2 separate regions of the Homo sapiens genome follow, and region 2 is linked to region 1. Evidence: promoter capture Hi-C in human tissues and cell types (Jung and others, 2019). All regions are on one chromosome and are shown on one strand. Each heading gives the region's core, a stretch centred on a gene start or on the middle of the fragment in contact. The rest is flanking DNA. Distances are from core to core; before and after follow the strand shown.

Region 1 (5,606 bases), core at 1,574-4,073:
CCTGCGGGGGACCTGCCCTACAGAAGGGGACATGGCCCATGCCCTGCAGGGCTTGGGTCCAACTGGCTGACCTGAGCCACGTCCTCCCCACTCCTCAACCACCCCTGAGACTCCATGGGCACTGGTGCCTGCCGGCACTGACCCAAGATGCCTCTGCCCATCTTGGGAAGGACAAGTTGAGACCCGTGGGTGTAGAGACCCTGCCAACTGCAGGTGGGACCAGTGCCCCTATCCCCCAGGGGCTCCAGACCTCTCCTGGCAGGGCTCCAGGCCCACCTGCAGCCATCTGGGCCAGGCCAACATCACCTCCAGGCCTCTCCTGGCTGCTCCCTCCCCTTCCCTCTCCTCCTGCCATTGCTGGCCGATGCCTCCAGTACCTCCCTCCCTAGCTGCAGCTCAGCCCTCAGTCATCCATCGCCTCCTGCAGCTTCTCCTCCCAACCCCAACTCCTTCCTGCTCCCCCAGGCAGTGGTGCCCACACTACCAGGCAAGGTTTGAGCCCAGGGACACCAGGGAAGTGCTTGGTCCTCAGTGTGGTGGGGAGGTGAGGGTGAGTCCTTAAATGGCCTAAATTGAGGCTAAAAATCTCTTAGACTGGGGTAGCATGCAGGTGCCTCCCCATAGACACACCTGCGCACCTGTGCTGCCCACTGCCACACAGAACAAATCTCTTGGCCCATGGCAGGAAGGGGGCGTGCACTATGCCCAGCAGGTGCACTTGTACTAGGCCAGGTGTCCGCTTTAGCTGTCGGCAGCAACTCACCCAGTGGCCAAAGCAGGGATGGGGCAACTTTGCAAAATGCTCATCCCCAAGTGGAGAGCTGGGTCCCCAGAGCCCAAACACACCCTGCTCCTCCCCAGACTTGGGCACCTTTCTTTACCATGCACAGCTCTGAGCAGCCATGCAGACAAACCTGGAGGGCCTCAGTGCTGAGTTCTTGTGAGGGGCTCTGCCTTGGGCCCTGGCGTCACTGTGGGGCGGGAACAGGAAGGGCCCCTGCTAACATCAAGGGGGTTGTCTCAATGTCCATGCAGGGCTGTCTCATAGCAGTGTCCGAGTTCCCCACTGGGTCCTGCAGGGCTCTGTGGGAACACACATTATTCTGAAGCCCACACCACAGGCTTACACCCAGCAGGACCAGCCAGGCCAGGAGGCTCTGGCCTCTGCATTCCTATAGCCCTGAGCCGTGTGTGGCAGCACTAATCTCCATTCTGCTGAGATTTCTGGGAGACCCCAGCAAATCCCTGAGCGTCTAGTCCCATGTCCTGATCTGCAAGCCGGGCATGCAAAACACAGGGAGATGCACACGAAGCTTTCACAGGAGTCCTGGTGCTGAGGTTTTGCATTTTTTGTTCAGTTTCATTGCCAGCAGCAGCCCCTGTGTCCCACTGAGTACTTCTGGAGGGGTCCAGCCACCTTATGCCTCCACACTCTCCAGCCTGCGGGGCCTGGCCCTTGGCACATCCAGGCCACCAACCTCAAAAATCAAATCAGTGAGATGGGTCGGGCGAGGTGGCTCACACCTGTAATCCCAGAACTTTGGGAGGCCGAGGCGGGCGGATCACGAGGTCAGGAGATCCAGACCATCCATGGTGAAACCCCATCTCTACTAAAAATACAAAAATTAGCTGGGCGTGGTGGCACGCGCCTGTAGTCCCAGCTACTTGGGAGGCTGAGGCAGGGGAATCGCTTGAACCCGGGAGGCGGAGGTTGCAGTGAACTGACATCACGCCACTGCATTCCAGCCTGGGCAACAGAGCCGTCTCAAAAAAAAAAAAAAAAAAAATCTGCGAGAGGGTGGGGGGTGCCGAGGCCAGTCTGGGCCAGCCTTAGGGTCAGGGGTCACTAGGGAGACCCGCCAGCTGGGATTTGATGAAGGGTTCACTCCCGTCCCCACTTAGGGCGTCCTCGGCCAGAGGTGGCCAGCGCCTGCCTCTAGGAACGTCCCTGCCCCTCAGGCCAGACACAGAGCATGCAGCCCCCCACTCCGGGGAGCCTCTCGACTCTGGCCGCACGTCTGTGTCCCTTCCCCAGACCTGGGCCCTCCCTCAGCTCCGGCGTCCACTGGGCGATCTGAGGAGCCCGCCCGCTCTGGGCCTGTTTCCCCACTGACACCCTCAGAGACGCCTGGCTCTTAGGATCAGAGCGTCTGCGTCCCTCTCCGAGGTCCCGGCCCTTCCCGGGGCCACTCTGCGCCCGGCGGGGAGGGGAGTCGTTCACGGCCCCACGCAAGACCCCCGGGCAGAGCGCGAGGCCTCGTCCCCCCACGCAGCCACTGCTTTCGTCGCGCTCAGACCCGGCGGCCCGGCCCGGCCCGGCGCACGCCCCGGAGCGCCCTGCTTCGCTCTCGTAGCGGAGACGCTCCTGCGTCCTAACGGGCCCCCAGGACGGCGGGCGGTCCCCGCGCGCTGCGCTTCCTCTCGGCAACGCGTCCGGCTGCGGCGCCCTCATTGGCCGCGCGCCCCGCCACCGGCCATTGGCTCGCAGTGCCTGTTTTACATAGGCCGCTCTGGCCAATCGGCGCGCGGCGCCTACTTAACATGCACGGCGGCCGCCAGTCAGCTAGCGCGGGGGCCGGGCCACCACGTGCTGTTGCTAAGCTCGGGCTTCTAAATTGTTACTAGCGCGGCCGGCCTATCCCAGCCCAGCTCTGCATCTGTCAACATTCTCGGCCCGGCCCGAGGCGCTCGACCCGTCCCCATTGGCCCCAGCCCGGCCCGGCGCCCGCCCCCGGGGCGCGAACGCCGCCTCCCATTGGCTCTGCGGGCCGCCGCTCTCCCTTATGTGTCAATTTGAGGGCCTGAGGCGGAGGGTGGCGGCCGAGCGCCGGAGTCCGCGGAGTCTGGAAGTGCGGCGGCCGGGCGCGCGGGGTGGGCGGCGAGCGGAGCCGGCCGGAGCGGGCCGGGCAGCGGCCGCCGCCGTCCCGGGGCGGACGGGCGCGGGCGGGAGGATGGAGCTGAACTCCCTGCTGATCCTGCTGGAGGCGGCCGAGTACCTGGAGCGCAGGGATCGAGGTAGCGCTCGCACCCCATTGTGCGCCCGCGGCGGTGGGCGGGCGGCGGGGCCGTGCCGGGCGGGGGCCGCTGACCGCGCCGTGTGTCCGCAGAGGCCGAGCACGGCTACGCCTCGGTGCTGCCCTTCGACGGCGACTTCGCCAGGGAGAAAACAAAGGCGGCCGGCCTGGTGCGCAAGGCCCCGAACAACAGGTACCGCCCCCCGCTCCCGACCCCGCCCGGCCCGGTCCGAACCCCCGCCCCCGCCCGGAGCGTGCTCTCCGGGCCCCGATTCCCGGCCCGCGGCCCTCAGCGCCGCCGCCGCGCGCCCCGGCGGCCAGCCTGGAGGAGGAGGCGCGCAGGCCGCGGCCGCAGCCCCGCCCGGCCGGCCCCGCCCTCGCCGTCGCCATCTTCCCGCGGCCGCGCCTCCCGGGCCGCTCGCGTAAACAGTGCCACGCGTACAGCGCCCGCCGCCGGGGTCCGCTCCCGCGCCCGCTCCCCGCCCCCGAGTTGTTCTGGACTTTTCCAGGCGGTAGAAAAGTTGTCAGCGGGCGCTGGCCGGTGCCCCGTGGGTCTGGGGAAACAGGCTCAGCCAGGGTCTGCGGGGGCTGCCGGCCCTAACCCCTTCTCTCCGCGGGTGGGTGGGCGGCCTCCTTTCGACTGGCTCTGCCAGCCGAACTCTGCTGCTCGGCCACCTTCCCCCGCCCCCAGGAGCCTAGACAGAGAAGCGAGTGGAGGCGCTGTCCTGGGCCCTCACTCCTCCCAGGGTGCCCACCGCTTCTGCCCAGCCTCCTGACACAGCGAAACTCCAGCCACCAGTATGGGGGTCCTCTTTTTTAAGACAGAGGCCTTTTAAGGGGGCGGGAGGAGGGGGCAGGCTGCAGGGCAGGGGCCCCATGAAGTCGTTACTACGGGTGCCAGCTGCGCCCTCCATACCTTGACCTCGTGTTCAGGCAGCAGAAGCCCTGAAGCTGGGGTGCGTACAGGTCCCCCGCGTGGGGAGTGGGGACCCTGGGCCGGGGCTCCCCGGGGATTTCCACCCTCCTGGCTGCTGTGAGGACCATAGCACACCTGGTCCTGTCTGGGCCCACCTTGGCCCAGCCCTTTTGTGTGAGCAGGCTGGGAGCTGCGTTTGTAGGGGGCTTCAGAGCCCCAGGGCATGGCTCATTCCTGTGGTCCACCTGTTCTAGGGAATCCGAAAGGCTGGTGTAGGGACCCATTTCTGTGGCATCCTGAGCCAGGCGAGGAATTGGTTGAGTCTCCAGCTGCCCTGGCTGGGACCCGTCCCTGAGTCCCAGCCCCTGGTCCCCTACTGGGGACAGTTTGGGGAAGGACAGGAGTGTGACGAGGGAACCATTGCCTCAGGCCTCCTCAGTGAGCAAGCCCGGCCCCCGCTGCCGCTTCTCTCCAAACCAAGTCCCTGACCCGTGGAGAACTCTGGGGCGTGAGCTGGGGCTCCCCCAGCATGGAGAATCCAAAGCTGACAACCAGCGTCCTGGCCAAGGCTGCCCGAACACTGCCTCTATGCTGAGCGTTTCACACATGCAGCCAGTTCATCTTCACCCCAGGCTCAGAGAGGTGATGTGATTTTTATCTCTATGGCCAAGGAAACTGAGGCAAGGAGAGGTTTGGTTACTTGCCTGCCACTCACCCATCTCTGATGACGCCTGTTCCTGAGATGGGGTCCCAGCTGTCCACATTCTGCTGGGACAGAGACCATGGGGGCACTGGTGAGGGAGACAGAGGGCTCCCCAACTCTGGTGCATCTCCCCTGGCTCCTCTGGGCCGAGCCCCGCTCCCCCGGGGCCTGAGGCAGCCCAGGGCTGGCGGCTTGGCCCCTTCCTCGGGTGGGCAGCACTGCCCTGGAGGTTTCCTCAGCCAGCCCAGACAAGTAGCTGGGCGGAGCAGGGGGCCAGAGGATCTCTGAGCCCCTGACTTGTCCCCACCTGTGAGGCTTCCATGCTCTGCCAAGGTGAGGGAGGGGACATGGCACAGTGAGGCTGGGGCAAGGGTAGGGAGTGGGGCCGGAGGACAGTGTCAGGGTTGAGGGAGGCGGCAGAGCACTGGGGCCAGCCTGCAGGGGGGTCCATTCTGTGGGAAGTGTGCTTGTCTCCTGGGGTCACGGGAATGCTGGGAACGCACTTGGCCTGGCCTCAGCGGGGACAGGTCCCACCTCTCCTGAGGGATAGAGTGCTCCTGGGACCCATGTTGCAAACATCCCCCTCGATGGACCCCAAGGGTCTCTGGGCCCAGGAGGAGCTGCAAGAGGGGCCCTGGCTGCTGGAGGAGGGCCCCCTGCCTCCAGGGTGGGGTCCAGCCCCGTGCCACCCTTCAAGGGGTAGGCAGGTAGGCTTTTATGTTGAAGGGCACCTGCTGACCCCGACCTCCCTCTTGACTACAGACCCACGTGGCCAGGCTGCAGTTTGGGCTGAGGACAGAGAGTACGGCTCATTCCTGCGGCCTGCCTATTCTGGGGAAGCAGAAACGCTGGCGTAGGGGCCTATCTCTGTGAGGCCAGTGAGGAGCATATGGCTGTGGCCTCTGCTGGCCCTGGTCGGCCCTGGCTGGCCCTGGCAGTGATTCGGAGGCTCCTTGTCCAGCCCATGTGACCA
Region 2 (5,606 bases), core at 1,750-4,249, 220 kb before region 1:
AAAATCCAGGCACCTGCAAACCCCAACCTGTGACCTTGGGGCATGGCATTGAACTTCTCTGTGCCCCATTTCCTTATCTATAGAACAGAACTGCACCTACCTTAATGGTGTGTGAGGATTCCAGAAGTTATTACAAGAGAGTGTTTGGAACAGTGCAGGCACACTGGAAAGGCTCAGTGTCTGTGGGCTGACACATACCCATCACCACACTCAGCCCCACAGCACCAGGTTGGCAGTCTCTCCAAATAAACCTTCCCAGTGACCAGCTCCAACCTTCTGCTCAAGCCCTAAAATGCTGTGTGATATCACATCCCACTCAGTTTTTTTTTGTTGTTGTTGTTGTTGTTTTTGAGACGGAGTCTCACTCTGTTGCCCAGACTGGAGTGCAGTGGGCTCACTGCAACCTCCACCTCCCAGGTTCAAGTGATTCTCCTGCCTCAGCCTCCCAGTAGCTGGGACTACAGGCATGTGCCACCACACCAGGCTAATTTTTCTACTTTTAGTAGAGATGGGGTTTCCACCAGGTTGGCCAGGCTGGTCTCGAACTTCTGACCTCAGGTGATCCACTTGCCTCGGCTTCCCAAAGTGCTGGGATTACAGGCATGAGCCACCACGTCTGTCCTCCCACCCAGCTTTAAGAAAGGATGCATACCTCCCCGCCTCATTCACAGTACAGCCCCTGCCCTGGGAATACAGCAATGAGCAAACACAGCCTCTGTGCAGAATCTAGGGCGGGGAGAAGGGTGAGGAGGGTGCTGGCAGGCAGCTATAACGAAGTTAGGAACTAAGTGTGCAAGAAGTACAGGAGGAGAAAGGGAGGCCAGAGTAGGTTTTTCAGGAGATGCCCAAAGGGACCGCCGTCCCAGCTGAGCTGAGCATTTTCTTCAGCACTTGGTCGTCTGGTTCTGAGAAAATGGCATACTGTATCTCACTCCCTGAGCGCCTCATTCTCTAGCTTGACCTCAATGGTTTAGAGGGGAAATCCCCTTCACTGTTTCACTCTAATAAAGGGTGACTTGCATCTCCTTAGGCTGGCCCATACTATGGGACTACGGGTGCTCTCAACAGAATGCACAAATGGGGCAGGCACAGTGGCTCATGCCCTATAACCCCAGCACTTTGGGAAGTTGAAGAGGGAGGATCTCTTGAGCCCAGGAATTGGAAACTAGCTTGGTTAACATGGTGAGATCCTGTCTCTATAAAAAAATTAAAATAATGAGGCTGGGCAGTGGCTCATGCCTGTAATCCCAGCACTCTGGGAGGCTGAGGCAGGCAGATCACTTGAGATCAGGAGTTCAAGACCAGCTTGGCCAACATGGCGAAACCCCGTCTCTACTAAAAATATAAAAATTAGCCGGGTGTGGTGGTGTGCGCCTATAATCCCAGCTACGTAGGAGGCTAAGGCACAAGAATCACTTGAACCCGGGAGGCGGAGGTTGCAATGAGCCAAGATGGCACCACTGCACTCCAGCCTGGCCAACAGAGAGAGACTCTGTCTCAAAAAATAAAAATAAAAACACATTAAAAAAATAGCCAGATGTGACGGTGCACACTTGTAGTCCCAGCTACTCCAGGGGCTGAGACAGGAGGATCACCTGAGCCCAGGAGGTCAAGACTGCAGTGAGCCATGACTGCACCATTGCACTCCAGCCCGGAGCACAAATGCTTCTCAAAGCAACACCTCACCTGGTAAGTGTTCAACTTTAAACAGACATTCAGGGAAGAGGCTCTGGCTAGGAAAAGACTTGTCTAGTTGGTTTCAACAGAGGTGGGAGGTGCCTCGACATCACCTTAGGACTCACAAGATCATTCAGACCACACGACAGTCCCAGATCCACCACATGTCCTGGGTTCTCATATCCACGAATGTTTCTGATCTCAAGAAATATCTTACATTTGGGTGCACATCTATCATATAGGGGCTTGTTCTCCCCGCCACATCAATAGCGTGTCTTAGAATTTAGAAAAGAGAAGCTACTGACAAAGGAAGACAGAGAAATCAGCCTGCAGAGCAAAGGGAAACACCTGATGTCCACACCCAGGCTGTTCCTAAGCCTCTCTCCTCCCACTTCACTGATATTGAGGCTTCCAAATACGGCTGCTGAAGATGTGCCTTGTGGCTGTCCTGGCCTGCACACCCCTCACCACTCTGAAACCAGCCTCCTGCATCCCTGCAGGCCCAGCTAGACCATTACTACTTCCCTGGGAAGCTTTCTGGAGCCCCCTCATTCTCCATGCCCTGGCCCATACAGCAATTCACCCCAAATCTGGTTTTTCTCTCTCTTTTGGGTTTAGTAAGGGTCAGGAGTCAGAGTTCAAAGGAATTTGGAAGGCTGGTCTTGGGGATAAGCCACCAAGAGGCTGGATTTCACCAGGGCACTGAGGTGAGACAGGAGCATTTCCAGCAGAGCATCCCAGCGTGGTGGGGACGTAGAAATGCAGAGTGAATGGAGACCTTAGCGGTCATGGGAAAGTAGCCCTCACCAACTACAAAGGGTTCTGGATCATGCAGGTGAGAGTCCAATGGAATAAGAAAACTAACAACAGCTGAGAGGTGCCTTCTCTGCATCTGCACAAGGCACTGCGCTTCCTAAATATTAATATCACCACATGTGCTCCTCACATCACCCAGTAAGGAAATAAGCACTGTTATGTTCCCCATTTTACCCATGAAGCAGCTAAGGATTAAAGTTAAGGAACTTCCCCAAAGTCATCCACACCTAGTAAACAGAGCCTAGACTTAAACCAGGGCAGTCTGATACCAAGACCCACACCCTCAAATAGGTATGTTAGTGCCAGAATCAAATACATCAATTCCAGAAACTAGCGGGAACACTGACGGTGATTTTTCAGATTTCTCAAATTTAGTGTGTTCCAAAAGGAACCCTTGCCTCCTCCTTCCGCCAACATATACTCCATTTCAAGAAAGGGCCCCACCATCCTCCAGTCTCTCGTCCAGTATGCTCTCACTTAGGTAAGCGCTACGAGGACAAGGCTCTATTTACTTTCTACCTAGCTAAGACCTTACACAAAGCAGATGCTCATATTTATTGAAGGAATAAATGAGGGTAAGAGTGGGGTGTTGATGGCGCCCCTGCCACTGAGAAAAGAGGAGCTGGGGTAGAGAAGTGGTCATTCCTAACTGGGGATGGTCAGGAGAGCCGGATGCTAGGTATTCCTAAAGCTTCCAAGGTGAAAGGAGAAACAACTCACGCCAAGGTATCTAGCTTCTTACTCTGCAAGAATGAGGCCATAAAACCCAATGAGGGAAGGGAGAACAGAAACAGGTGCTGAGTGTAGTTTTAGAAAAGCAGGGTGTGAGACACCCAGGGAGAAAGGGCCCAAGGTAGCTGGAAACTCAAGAGTGAGAACTCGGATGGACGTAGAGATTTCAGAATGTGTGAAAACTTGGGGAGGCAGGTAGATAGAATCTGTAAAAGAGAATTTAAAAGAAACAAAGCTAGGAGAACCTGGAGCCGTCACTCAGACAAAACCTCCTTCTTCAAGGAGGAGGAAGCAGTGAACAGCTGCAATGCACAGGCTGGGGAACTGAAAGGCGGCCAGTGAGCTCAAACACGGAAGTGGGACGCTGGTGACCTAAGCAAGTGGAAGCAGCAGCAAAGGAGTCGCAGTCCCAGCCCAAACGCGCTGAGGATCAAGCCGGGCTGTCTAGAGGAAGCAGTGCTGAATGGGGCCTCAAGTGACAGGAGGAGTTAATTAAGAAACAATGTATGTGGGTGGGGTGGGCGGAAGGGAGCAGGGATGTCCCACACGAGCACTGTGTGGAGGACAACAAAGGTGCCGAGGGTTCCTAACAAGCCTCACTGACTACACCCTCAGGACAGGGCCATCGAGGGTTTTGGGACAGAGATGACATGTTGAGATCTGCATTTAGAGACCATGTCACCTGTGTCTGGTGAGAACAGATGGGAGACTGAACAAGTCAGACTGTAGACCAAGGAGGAGACTCAGGGTAGCCCAGGTGAGAAGAAAGCCATGAGGCTCGGGGTAGTGGCAGAGTATAGGACAGAGAGGTGACTGACGGGATGGAAGCTGGAAGGGCTTTGGGGCTTTCTTCATTCTTATAGATTTATTATTTAAGGTCTAAGTAATTATTCTGTTTTTCTTAGAGGTCCCCCCCAATAAAGCTATTATAAGCACTTCAGATATTGACCCCCCCCACTCTAGCAGGAGTGTGACATATAATTATGTGTATTCATGGTATATATGTATACGATGTGCAGATGCTCCTTGACGTACAATGGGGCTAACTCCCAATAAATCATAAGTTGAAAAATTCTAAATGAAACACTGTAAGTCAGGGACTGTCCGTGTATGCATATGTGCATGTGTCTCTATCATACATAAAGGAGTCTGCTAATGGATAGAGACATACAGGCGGGCAGGAAACAGGAAGAGTGTTAGACTGGAACCAAATTCTATGACCCTATCTCATACCACTGTATTCCTATGAGCAAAGAGTCAGCTGAAAAGGGGCAGTGGGGAGCACAGCAGAACCAGAATGATATCGTAACTCTGCAGCCAGTCCACAGGGAGATGCTCTAACGAGAAGCTCTTCTGTTTAGCCTAGGCCTACACCAGGTACACAGAACCCTCAAACCCCACCTGGGAGGCAGAGTCTGATACAATTACCCACTGAAAATAAGAGACCTGGGTCAGGCATGGTGGCTCACACCTGTAATCCCAGCACTTTGGGAGGCCGAGGCGGGGGGGGATCACCTGAGGCCAGGAGTTCGAGACCAGCCTGAACAATATGGTGAAACCCACCCCCTACTAAAAATACAACAATTAGCTGGGTGTGGTGGTGGGCGCCTGTAATCCCAGCTACTCGGGAACCTGAGGCAGGAGAATCGCTCGAACCCAAGAGGTGGAGGTGAGCCGAGATCGCACCATTGCACTCCAGCCTGCGCAACAAGTGAAACTCAGTCTCAAAATAAATAAATAAATAAAAATCAATAAAAACAAATAATTTTTTTTTGAGACACAGTCTTGTTCTGTCACCCAGGCTGGAGTGCAGTGGTGTGATCTTGGCTGACTGCAGCCTCCACCTCCCAGGTTCAAGCAATTCTTGTGCCTCAGCCTCCCAACTAGCTGGGATTACAGGAACCCACCACCATGCCCGGCTAATTTTTGTATTTTTAGTAGAGATGGGGCTTTGCCATGTTGGCCAGGCTGGTCTCCAACTCCTGACCTCAAGTGATCTGCCCACCTTGACTTCCCAAAGTGCTGGGATTATAGGTGTGAGCCACCGCACCTGTTCACAAACACCTCTTAAACAGAACTTTGATACCCTCAGTCATATCAATAACCACACCTTAATACTCAGAAGAAATATGAGCCTCTTGCTCATTATACAAATGAGGGTATGTGGTTAAGCGGTCAGCAATGATGTGGCTGGCCAATAAGCCCTACAGCCTTGGACAAATACTTGCCTTCTGTGCCTCAGTGTCCACATCTTTAATTGAGTAGAACACCTCACCTCTGTGGAACCAGTGACCGCTGAATGAAACACCCAGTATGGTTCCTAGCACCCAGAAGGCAGCTCTATCAACTAATTTGCTAACTATTCACAGGTGCCTAGTCTG

What was found. Contacts are between HindIII fragments. The study calls those that stand out against the background at their distance.
Region 2: a fragment that was not itself captured here is called in contact with the fragment with the promoter of MXD4 in region 1 in 3 of the 25 tissues and cell types used here (dorsolateral prefrontal cortex, lymphoblastoid cells and spleen).

Annotation. Positions count from the first base shown.
Region 1 is chr4:2,259,326-2,264,931 of GRCh38, reverse strand. It overlaps MXD4 (MAX dimerization protein 4), which reads left to right and starts at 2,823. Exons shown (of 6, transcript NM_006454.3): 1 at 2,823-3,015; 2 at 3,108-3,207. The coding sequence starts at 2,952. RefSeq lists enhancers at 1,151-1,810, 1,811-2,472, 3,704-4,296 and silencers at 2,104-2,943, 2,994-3,053, 3,144-3,533, 3,544-3,603. The HindIII fragment of the contact is 28,165 bases long and covers 1-5,606 here.
Region 2 is chr4:2,483,197-2,488,802 of GRCh38, reverse strand. The region is part of intron 1 of RNF4 (ring finger protein 4); the gene reads right to left. Among named protein-coding and RNA genes, the nearest start is that of RNF4, 17 kb to the right of the region's middle. RefSeq lists enhancers at 621-730, 2,234-2,735, 3,239-3,518. The HindIII fragment of the contact is 4,796 bases long and covers 602-5,397 here.